Linked DNA regions of Homo sapiens: all the other regions are linked to region 3. Evidence: promoter capture Hi-C in 16 types of primary human blood cells and fetal thymus (Javierre and others, 2016). All regions are on one chromosome and are shown on one strand. The core of a region is centred on a gene start or on the middle of the fragment in contact, and the rest is flanking DNA. Distances in the headings are between cores, read along the strand shown. Region 1 holds the start of PTPN4 (protein tyrosine phosphatase non-receptor type 4). Region 2 holds the start of SMC6 (structural maintenance of chromosomes 6). Region 3 holds the start of ZNF2 (zinc finger protein 2).

The links. The method cuts DNA at HindIII sites, captures the fragments that hold promoters and counts their contacts. A CHiCAGO score of 5 or more calls a contact.
Region 1: the fragment with the promoter of PTPN4 here is called in contact with the fragment with the promoter of ZNF2 in region 3 in 1 of 17 cell types (total B cells); the score reaches 7.9 in total B cells.
Region 2: a contact is called between the fragment with the promoter of SMC6 here and the fragment with the promoter of ZNF2 in region 3, in 1 of 17 cell types (naive CD8 T cells). The highest score is 8.1, in naive CD8 T cells.

The regions. Positions count from the first base shown.
Region 1 is chr2:119,758,646-119,761,388 of GRCh38, forward strand. PTPN4 (protein tyrosine phosphatase non-receptor type 4) reads left to right here and starts at 1,277. Exons shown (of 27, transcript NM_002830.4): 1 at 1,277-1,739. It overlaps LOC101927764 (a long non-coding RNA gene), which reads right to left and starts at 1,069. Exons shown (of 4, transcript XR_007087215.1): 1 at 987-1,069. RefSeq lists silencers at 819-928, 1,479-1,778 and enhancers at 968-1,262, 979-1,238, 1,509-2,133. The HindIII fragment of the contact is 4,728 bases long and covers 1-2,048 here.
Region 2 is chr2:17,752,498-17,755,197 of GRCh38, forward strand. SMC6 (structural maintenance of chromosomes 6) reads right to left here and starts at 1,313. Exons shown (of 28, transcript NM_001142286.2): 1 at 1,129-1,313; 2 at 481-567. GEN1 (GEN1 Holliday junction 5' flap endonuclease) reads left to right here and starts at 1,641. Exons shown (of 14, transcript NM_001130009.3): 1 at 1,641-1,848. RefSeq lists silencers at 789-1,148, 1,289-1,428. The HindIII fragment of the contact is 9,742 bases long and covers 1-2,700 here.
Region 3 is chr2:95,164,405-95,167,104 of GRCh38, forward strand. It overlaps ZNF2 (zinc finger protein 2), which reads left to right and starts at 1,405. Exons shown (of 5, transcript NM_021088.4): 1 at 1,405-1,456. RefSeq lists enhancers at 393-1,029, 1,030-1,664, 1,092-1,521. The HindIII fragment of the contact is 3,796 bases long and covers 1-2,700 here.

The DNA.
Region 1 (2,743 bases), core at 27-2,526, about 25 Mb after region 3:
ATCTTTGGTTGGAGGATGACTGGATGTTGACAGATGACAATGAGGTGAAGAGCATTTTAGCAGAGGGAATGGCATGATCAAAGACAAAATGGAGAGTCAGAGGCAGGAATGCATATTTAGGGAGGAATGAATGAGCACTGGCTACAACAGAGATCTGGGAAGAAAAGCAAGTGAAGGAAGTAAAGCTGGAAACATGGATTGACAAGTTGCCTTTTTCAAATGGAAAAACTAACAGGTGTGAGGGAGAAGAGAGTCAATAGAAATTTCTGTCTTTTCCAGATTTGTTCACATTCCCCTGATTTGTAGTCATTTTGTCGGCTTGGGAAAGTGGTTTTTGAAAGATCGTCTTTATAAAGGTAGGCTCTGATAGGATGCTCAAGCTAAGAGCAAGGAAGGACAAAGAAGGCGCCTGGCGACAGAAAAGGGCACTAACAAAAATTGGGCAAAAAGGAAGTGTGGCGGTCCCCAAATCCCTTCTTCCTCCATTTCAGCTGAGATCATTCGCCAGTAGGCAACTGTGGTATTACCAATAAGTTTGTATCACCAATAAAATATTATAATGCACCTGGCTAAAAACCCTGGCGTGATAACACCAAATTCATGTTATTAGAAGGAATTAAATTTTAAAAAGCACACCGTTCCAGGCACACAGAAGGAGCCCCCGAACGTTTGTTTTATAAACGCAGGTTGGTTGCTGAGGCTTTGTTTTGGAGCCTACGTTTAGGAGAGGAAATGATTCAAAACTGCCCCCCAAAACCTATATCCTCCAGGAGCACTGAGGTTGGGGCGACCTGCTGCCAACTGGTCTGGTTTTCCCTTTTAACACACGCTTCTTGCCCACTATCCGGTCCCTGCGGTCAGTGGGTGCAGCAGGGGTCGCAGTCCAAACAACCAATCGCGACGCGGCTGCGGGGCGGGGGCCACAGCGCTCCGCCTCCCCCCTCCAATCCGCCCTCCCAATCCTCCTAGGCCGCTCTCTCTCGCACCTGCGTGTCCCTCTGCGCTCCGACTGGTGCGACTTCTCCCTGCGCTAGCGAGGCAGGGTTTTGGCCTCGCCTCTCGCGAGATCGCCTCCTGTTGCTGCCGCCGCCGCTCCTGGCCACTGACTGGCGGCGCCTGCGCAGCCGCCATGTTCGGTTGCTATGCTGCGGCCTAGGAGAGGGGGTGTGCTTGAGGGAGGAGGAAGAGATAGAGGAGGAGGAGGGGGAGGAAGAGGAGGTGGAGAAGGAGGGGGGTGACTGAGCTCCTCTTGCACTCTCACACACAAACGCTGCCCAGGATTACCCGCCAGCTCACGCCGCGCAGTGCGCTTTTCCGCTCCTCGCGCCCCACCACCAACATTGTTCTCTCAGGACTCCTGGGTCCCAGGGGCCGGAATTGGGCCTGAGCGGGAGAGGAAAGAGACTTGGCTTTGGCCGCGGGGTCGGAGGATTGGGGCCAGGCCCCCTCCCCCACGCACTTTTGGGGGTGTGGATTATCTCATCCCTGCAGGGAGGTAGGAGAGGTCGCCGGCTGCCCGCCTCCCTGCCACCTCCCCAGCGGCGCCGGCCCGCGGCTGCCCAGCAGCATGAGGTGGTGCTGGCGGCTCCGGGTCGTGGCGCGACCGCTGCGGCGGCGGCTGCTCGGGGGGCGCTGAGGTAGCCCCCCGGAGCGGCACGGAGGACGCGCTTCTCCTCTGCGCGCCGGGGCCTCGAGGCTTTTTTTCTCCAGCCGAGAGGACGCGGCTGTGATATACGAAGGTAAGAGGTTCTCCGGTCCCCGCCGGCCTCTCGGCCCTGCACGTTGAACGGGAGGCTCTTACCTGCATGTGTGGCTCCTGGGAGGTGAGCCAGGTGGGGCAAGCCGGAGGTACGAGGATGATTTGAAAGGAAGGAAAAAAGGACAAAAACAAACAAACAAACAAACAAAAAAACGCTTTCTTTCCTTTCTTCCTGGGACCTCTGCTTTTGCGGGGGTTATAGTTGGAATCTCTGTTATGGGTCAGCGAAGGGCCAAGGGATGGAATAGGTGCGGAGATGGAATGTTCCCAGTACCTAAACTCTAGGTAAAGCTTTGGAATCTTGAGTTTTCCATTGCTGGTAGAATTCCTTTTTTTTTTTTTTTTTTTTTTGGCTCATATGAGCGCTTCTTGCACGCTGCATGAGCCAACTATTCCTACCATTGAAGTTTTAAGCCTGTTATGATTCTACCAGTATATACCTGTATTTGGGAATCTGTAGTTGAGCCAAAAAAAAAAAAAAAAAAAAAGTTGAGATGTGGGTAAACAGTGATGCATTTCGCAGGGTTTCCATAAAATGGAACAGCTTACAGTTGCACAGGTGATGTGTGGATGTTTCTGCAAAACTTAGGGTGGAAGATTTTATGTCTGGGCTTGCATCATGTAGTGACATCAGTATGTACAAGGACGATTTGTAGGATTTTTCAAAACGCCTGTTCTAGGATAACTTGTTATGCATCTGCAATATGCCAGCTGCTTTTCGAATAAGAGGTTTCAGTAATACTAAGTTTCTGTGTCCAGATCTTGGGCCCAGTTGAAACAGTACAGCTGATTGGTCACATTTAAAACATATTTATGGAGAAAGATAAAAGGCCAATGTGTCCGACTTGCAAAAGACAATTAGAGTAGAAAGAAGACTGGAACAGTAAAAGCCAGGGCATTTTTAAATCTTGGTTTTCTGAACTTTAACGTGCCAGAGGAAAAAAATTTTTTTTCAATTTTAAGGGGGAAGGAGATGGCCTTAAA
Region 2 (2,700 bases), core at 63-2,562, about 77 Mb before region 3:
GGTGGTACCAACCTGCTCAGAGTCACACAATTCTGGCTTTTTGTGATATAAATACACGCTTTTAGGCAATATACTAGTGGCCTCCAAACGTTTTGTACTTGCACCCATTAAGCAAAAGAAATTTGAAATACATGTTCCAACATAAAATTAATACCCTATGTTTCACGTAGAAATCAAATGAAATAAATCTAAATAGAAGTTCTAATATGTTCCCTCTCTACCCACACACCCATGGAACAAACTGCATGCCACTGTATATACTATTGTACATGTTAAAAGATCACACTGCAACCATATAAAAGTCAGGAGATTTGGGTTTTTCTTTTTTCCTTTGAATATATATTACTGAGAAGTTTGCCTTTAAAACACTGGCTTTTAATCTACTACTCGTGACATATGCAGAGTAATAAGCGCTCACAAAACTTCTGTCTTGAGGGCTCAAACACCAAATGATTGCTCTAAGAATTTTCACAGTATTACCTCAAACCCTATTGGTTCTACAACCTTTCTCTACCCTAGAGTCCTGTTTTCCGCAATTCCCAATTGGGATTCTTCTCCGGTTCATTTCTGTAAGAAATGAGGGCAGAGAAATGCCATCAGTAAACCTTTGAACACATGTTAATTTTTCTAGGTAATACAATTTGCATTTTCGTAAAACTGGGCTTTAATGACAAATCCGATTTCAGTGATCTTTGCATACACCCTTTAAACACACCAGTTGCCGCCTGCGAGATATCATCAGACTCATGCTAAGAGCCACTCCCTACCCCAGCTTTCCCCAGACCTCTCCCCGCTTTACAGTTATTCGCCACAGCCCGGGAGAGTCTGGGGACGGCCGCCTGGGAGGGGACGGCCGCCTGGGAGGGGACGGCCCGGAGCAGACGCCAGGTTTCCCGCGGCTCAGGAGACCGGTGCCGCCTCGGAGAGCGCGCGAAGGTGCCGCCGGCCGCCCGACCCGCCCGAGGAACGGACATCTCCCGCCCGGGCCCGCAAGGACGACCATGAACACCGCCGCAGCTCAGCTGACCCTGCCTCTCCCGGGTGGCTGGGGGTCGCCAGCCAAGGGGGCAGCGGGCGGAGGATGAACCCCGGAGCAAGGGAAAGCGACAGCGCGCGCCTTCACCCTACCGCCAACAAGTCGAAGTCTCCCAAAGGAACCTGATCGGCGGGGCTGCCGTGGTACGACCGGCCGCTAAGGCCACCCTGCGGGCGTCTCGACCTCGGCTGACCGCCGCTGGCCCCCTGGGAACCGCGTGCCGGCCGCAGGAGAAGGTAGATTCCCGGGAGCCCCGGCGCCCACCGCGGTACTAACCGCGCCTGCGCCCCGCCCTCCCTCCCTTCGGGCTCCGCCCGCGCCTGCGCAGTTGCGGGGTTTCGCGCCGCCGGAGTCTGAGAGGCCGGAAGTGCCCCTTAGCGGGTGGGGGAAGCTGGTAGGCACGGGCGGCTCCGCAGTGACCGGACTCGGGGGAGGTGAGTGATTTGCCTAAGTAAAAGGGAAAGATAATTGAGCGCCCCCGGCAGCTGGTCTACGCATGCGTCCGCTAGGCCGGCTGGGAGCCGGCAAGGGAAAGCCGAGCGGGCCCCATTGGGGGAAAGGGGTCAGTCACTTCCCGGAAGAGGCGGGGCCGCGCGGGCCCGGCGCTGGATTCGAAACGCTTCCTGGTGCTCCTGGGCCTGGCGGTTGAGCCCGGGGAGCTAGTCTTTGCTTGGGTAAAGAAAGAGGACTTTCCTTTTTTTTTTTCCTTTTGAGAAAATTCAGAAATTTGGAGGCACAGTAGTTAGGATTCAGGCCAAACTGGTAAATGACGAAGGGGCTTCTTCCAGAGCCAAGGAGGAAGGGTTGTCCGGGTAAGTCCCGCGGGACGTGGAGAGACGGCGCCGCCCGGGTCCTCCCACTGATTCCTTTGACCATCTGGCTTACGGACGAGCTCTTTGTTCGCTGCTCCTCCGAAAACGCCTTCAATGACTCCCTTTGAATAAAGTAGGAAGTCCGAACCGAGCCGCCAGGCCGCGACTTGGCCCCTGTTTTCCACTCGCGAGGGCCCTGCGTCACCCCGCCTCGGGAAAGCTGCGCGTTCTCCGGCCGCTTGCGCTTGGCCGAAGCTGCTGGGTCCCGCTGTGCTTCCCCCGGGCATGCGATGGGGATAATTCCCACGCCTCGCTCAAAGCCATCCCGGGAGAGCCCTCCCTGGTCCCCATAGGCACAGTTGGGTGTTCCCTTTTCCGTGTTAACCTTGTATTTCGGATATAGTTCTGTTATAGTAATTACTTTAAGGTATTGTAGTTATTTACAATCAGTCTTTCCCCCACGGTAACCTAGAGTGTAAACCCCCTAAATAAACGTCAGAAGTAATGAAGTCTTAACTTCCTTGGCTTAGGTTTCAGCGCCCTTCTCAACCCCACACTCCCGCTTCAGTCTTTACACAACCCTTCCCATGAATATGCTGACCTAACAAGTAACCTACTTTTCATACTCCAAAATCTTCTCTTCTGTGTGGGGAAAATAATGCATTGACTGCCACCTCACTCCACCTCCAAATAAATTGATGTTGAAATTCTGGCCTCCGGTAATGGAATTCTTTACATCAAAGTCACTTTTTATTTCTAAAAGTAATCACATATATATTATATTCCTACTGTGGCCCTTGCCATGGATCAACGAAAAATATGACATAGTCAAAATAGACCAAAACATCTGGC
Region 3 (2,700 bases), core at 155-2,654:
CACACTTTTTTTTTCTTAAGTATTTAAGTATACCAGTGAAAGGAATCCTTTCCCACCTTTCCCGGCCATAGTTAATAGCTTCCTCCATTGTACTCTCATAGTATGTTGAATGTGACATAATTATAGAACATACTGCCTCTATTGTGATTTTACATTCTGATTTTTTCCATTGGACCAAGAGTTCATTTGGGGCAGTAACTTACTCATATTTGTAACTGTGCCTTGCTTATGGTGAGCAATTTGGATTTTTTGAATGAAAGTGTAGTCTTATGGAGATGGAGAGTAGAAGGATGGTTAACAGACTGGGAAGGGTTGGCGGGGTGGGGAAGTGGGGATAGTTAATGGGTACAAAAAATAGAATAAGAAATAGTATAACTAGTATTTGATAGCACATCAGAGTAATTACAGCCAATAATATTGTATATTTTAAAGTAACTAAAAGAATATAACTGGATCGTTTGTAACACAAAGGACAAATGCTTGAGGTGATGGATATCCCATTTGTCCTGATGAGATTATTACTTATTGCATGCCTGTGTCAAAATATCTCAGGTGGCCCATAAATGTTCACACCTACTGTGTACCCACAAAAACTTAAAAAAAACCCAAACCACTAATAAATTAACCTGGAAAAACGTAGCTTTGTTCCTGAAGTAAGATTTTATCATATTCTTTGTAATTTTCAGTCTTCCCTGAGATGTAGCTCAGTGGTTCCTAGCTTTAGCTGCACATTAGAGTCACCTGCAGCTCTTTTCAAACTGTCGCTCCACAGCTGGGCCTCAGGCATCAATGTCGAAAGCTCTCCGGGTGATTCCAGCTTGCAGCCAGGGCCGTTCCAGCAACTCCAAGGCTGGCTGGTGTGCGCTGAAGCTGTCGGGAGTCGGACCAGCTGCACAGTTAATACATATGTGTCCTAGGCTCCTCTCTCCTTCCAACGCAAATATGTGTACAAACCCTGCCTGGAACCGCAGCCCTGCTCTCAGAATCAAATTCCTGAAAGTGGGCAAGCGGAAGCGGAAATAAGCCCTCTCCCAACGCCAGCTGACTCGATTTCGTCTCGGTCTTCCCCAGAGCTGGACACGAGGCACCATGATCAGAGAGACACATTCCCTGCGGACGGCGCTCCCATCGGATACTGGAGGGACGCGACACTAGAGGCAGGCAGTACTTCAGGGTGACCATAAGTCTCCCAAACAGCCACAACGGCTCGCTCTCCCAGCTAAGGCGACAGCGCTGCCATTTTGGATCCTGTTCAGCCACGGGAAGCCGGCGTTTGCACACATTTTCGGACGTCATATTAAAGCGCACCGGACGCCGAGACTTCTGGGAGATGAAGTCCTTGCGAAGGCCCCGCATTGATTGGGAGCGCAGTCGCCAGGACCCTGTGCGCAGGCGCGTTGGTTTCCCGACCTGAAGAGGCGCCGTCTTCCCGGGTCCCGAGCACTCTGTGCCGGAGGTGAGGGTTGTGGGTGTGTGTCTTCAAGGAGCGGAGTGAGCGCAGCAGCCGAGAGAGGGGACATGAGAACTTTGGGGAGGTGCTGTGGGAGCAAAACGGGGTGACACGGGCGAGGCCAGCCTGCAGAGCGTGTGTCGCGACGTCTCGGTGCGGACGGAAAGTTGTGCATCCACCCCCGTGTGTGCGTGTGTCCCGTGGGGTCTGGGCACCCATTGTATGTCGGTCCCGGACTTTAAGGTTGGAGGTTTGGAGTCTTCCTCCGCCTCTCCCGTTTCTTCTTCCCATAATGGGTGCTTAATGAACGTGGGTGGAATTGACACCAAATCTAGGATGCTGCCGCTCCGTCTTTGCCAGACAGCGCCTCAGATTGCCTCATTTAGCTCCCTGCCCTGGGCCTCCGCACGAGTGCTGGAGGGCTTCATGGAGGAGGTGGGATTTGACGTGAAAGAAAAACAACAACAACAAAACAAAAACCACGAAAGAAGCAGCTAAGCGTTAGGCAGATTTGAGCTGGAGATAGTTTTTACAGAAATGCAGGAACAGTGGTAGACAAGGTTGAAGAAAAGGTACGCTGGGAGCCAGGGCCCGGGACTCAGAGAATCAGGACAAGACTCAGTAGGCAAGGTGGCTTATATAGGTGTGATCCAGGGACTGACACGAATGAAACTATTTGGAGACAGTTATTCTAGAGGTCACATTCAGGACTAGAGAGGGGAAAGGACCAGTAGCAGAGAGCTACTTAGGAATGTATGGTAGTTTTGGAGTAAGATGTTGTGGACTTGAATTATGGTGGTGGTAGTGAAAGGGAAGGATACAGATGACACTGCAAAAGAAGAGTCAAAAGGGCCTGGTGACTAGATTTGGGAGGAAAGAGAGTGAGGTAAGAGTTTGAATTTGGGACACCTGGGAGAACAATAAAACATCTGATACAAATGTAAAGCCAGGAAGAGGCGTTGATGTGTGGAATTGCCTAAAGGAAGATAGTTTTGAGGTGATGGTGGAACGCCTGATTTAAGGTTTGCAGTCATTTGGAAATGCAGGATGAGTCTGGAAGAATGCAATACAGTTGTATTGTAAAATTACAATACAATTACAGGACATGGACATCTGTAGAGTTTGAAAATGGAGCCCTGAATGTGGATGGACTTTCTGAGGGATGGCAAAAACGAAGAAAGTACAAAGACTGAGCTATGGGCAGCATCCATGTTTCCAGGGCAAAAGTGGGGAAAAAGAGTCACAGAAAG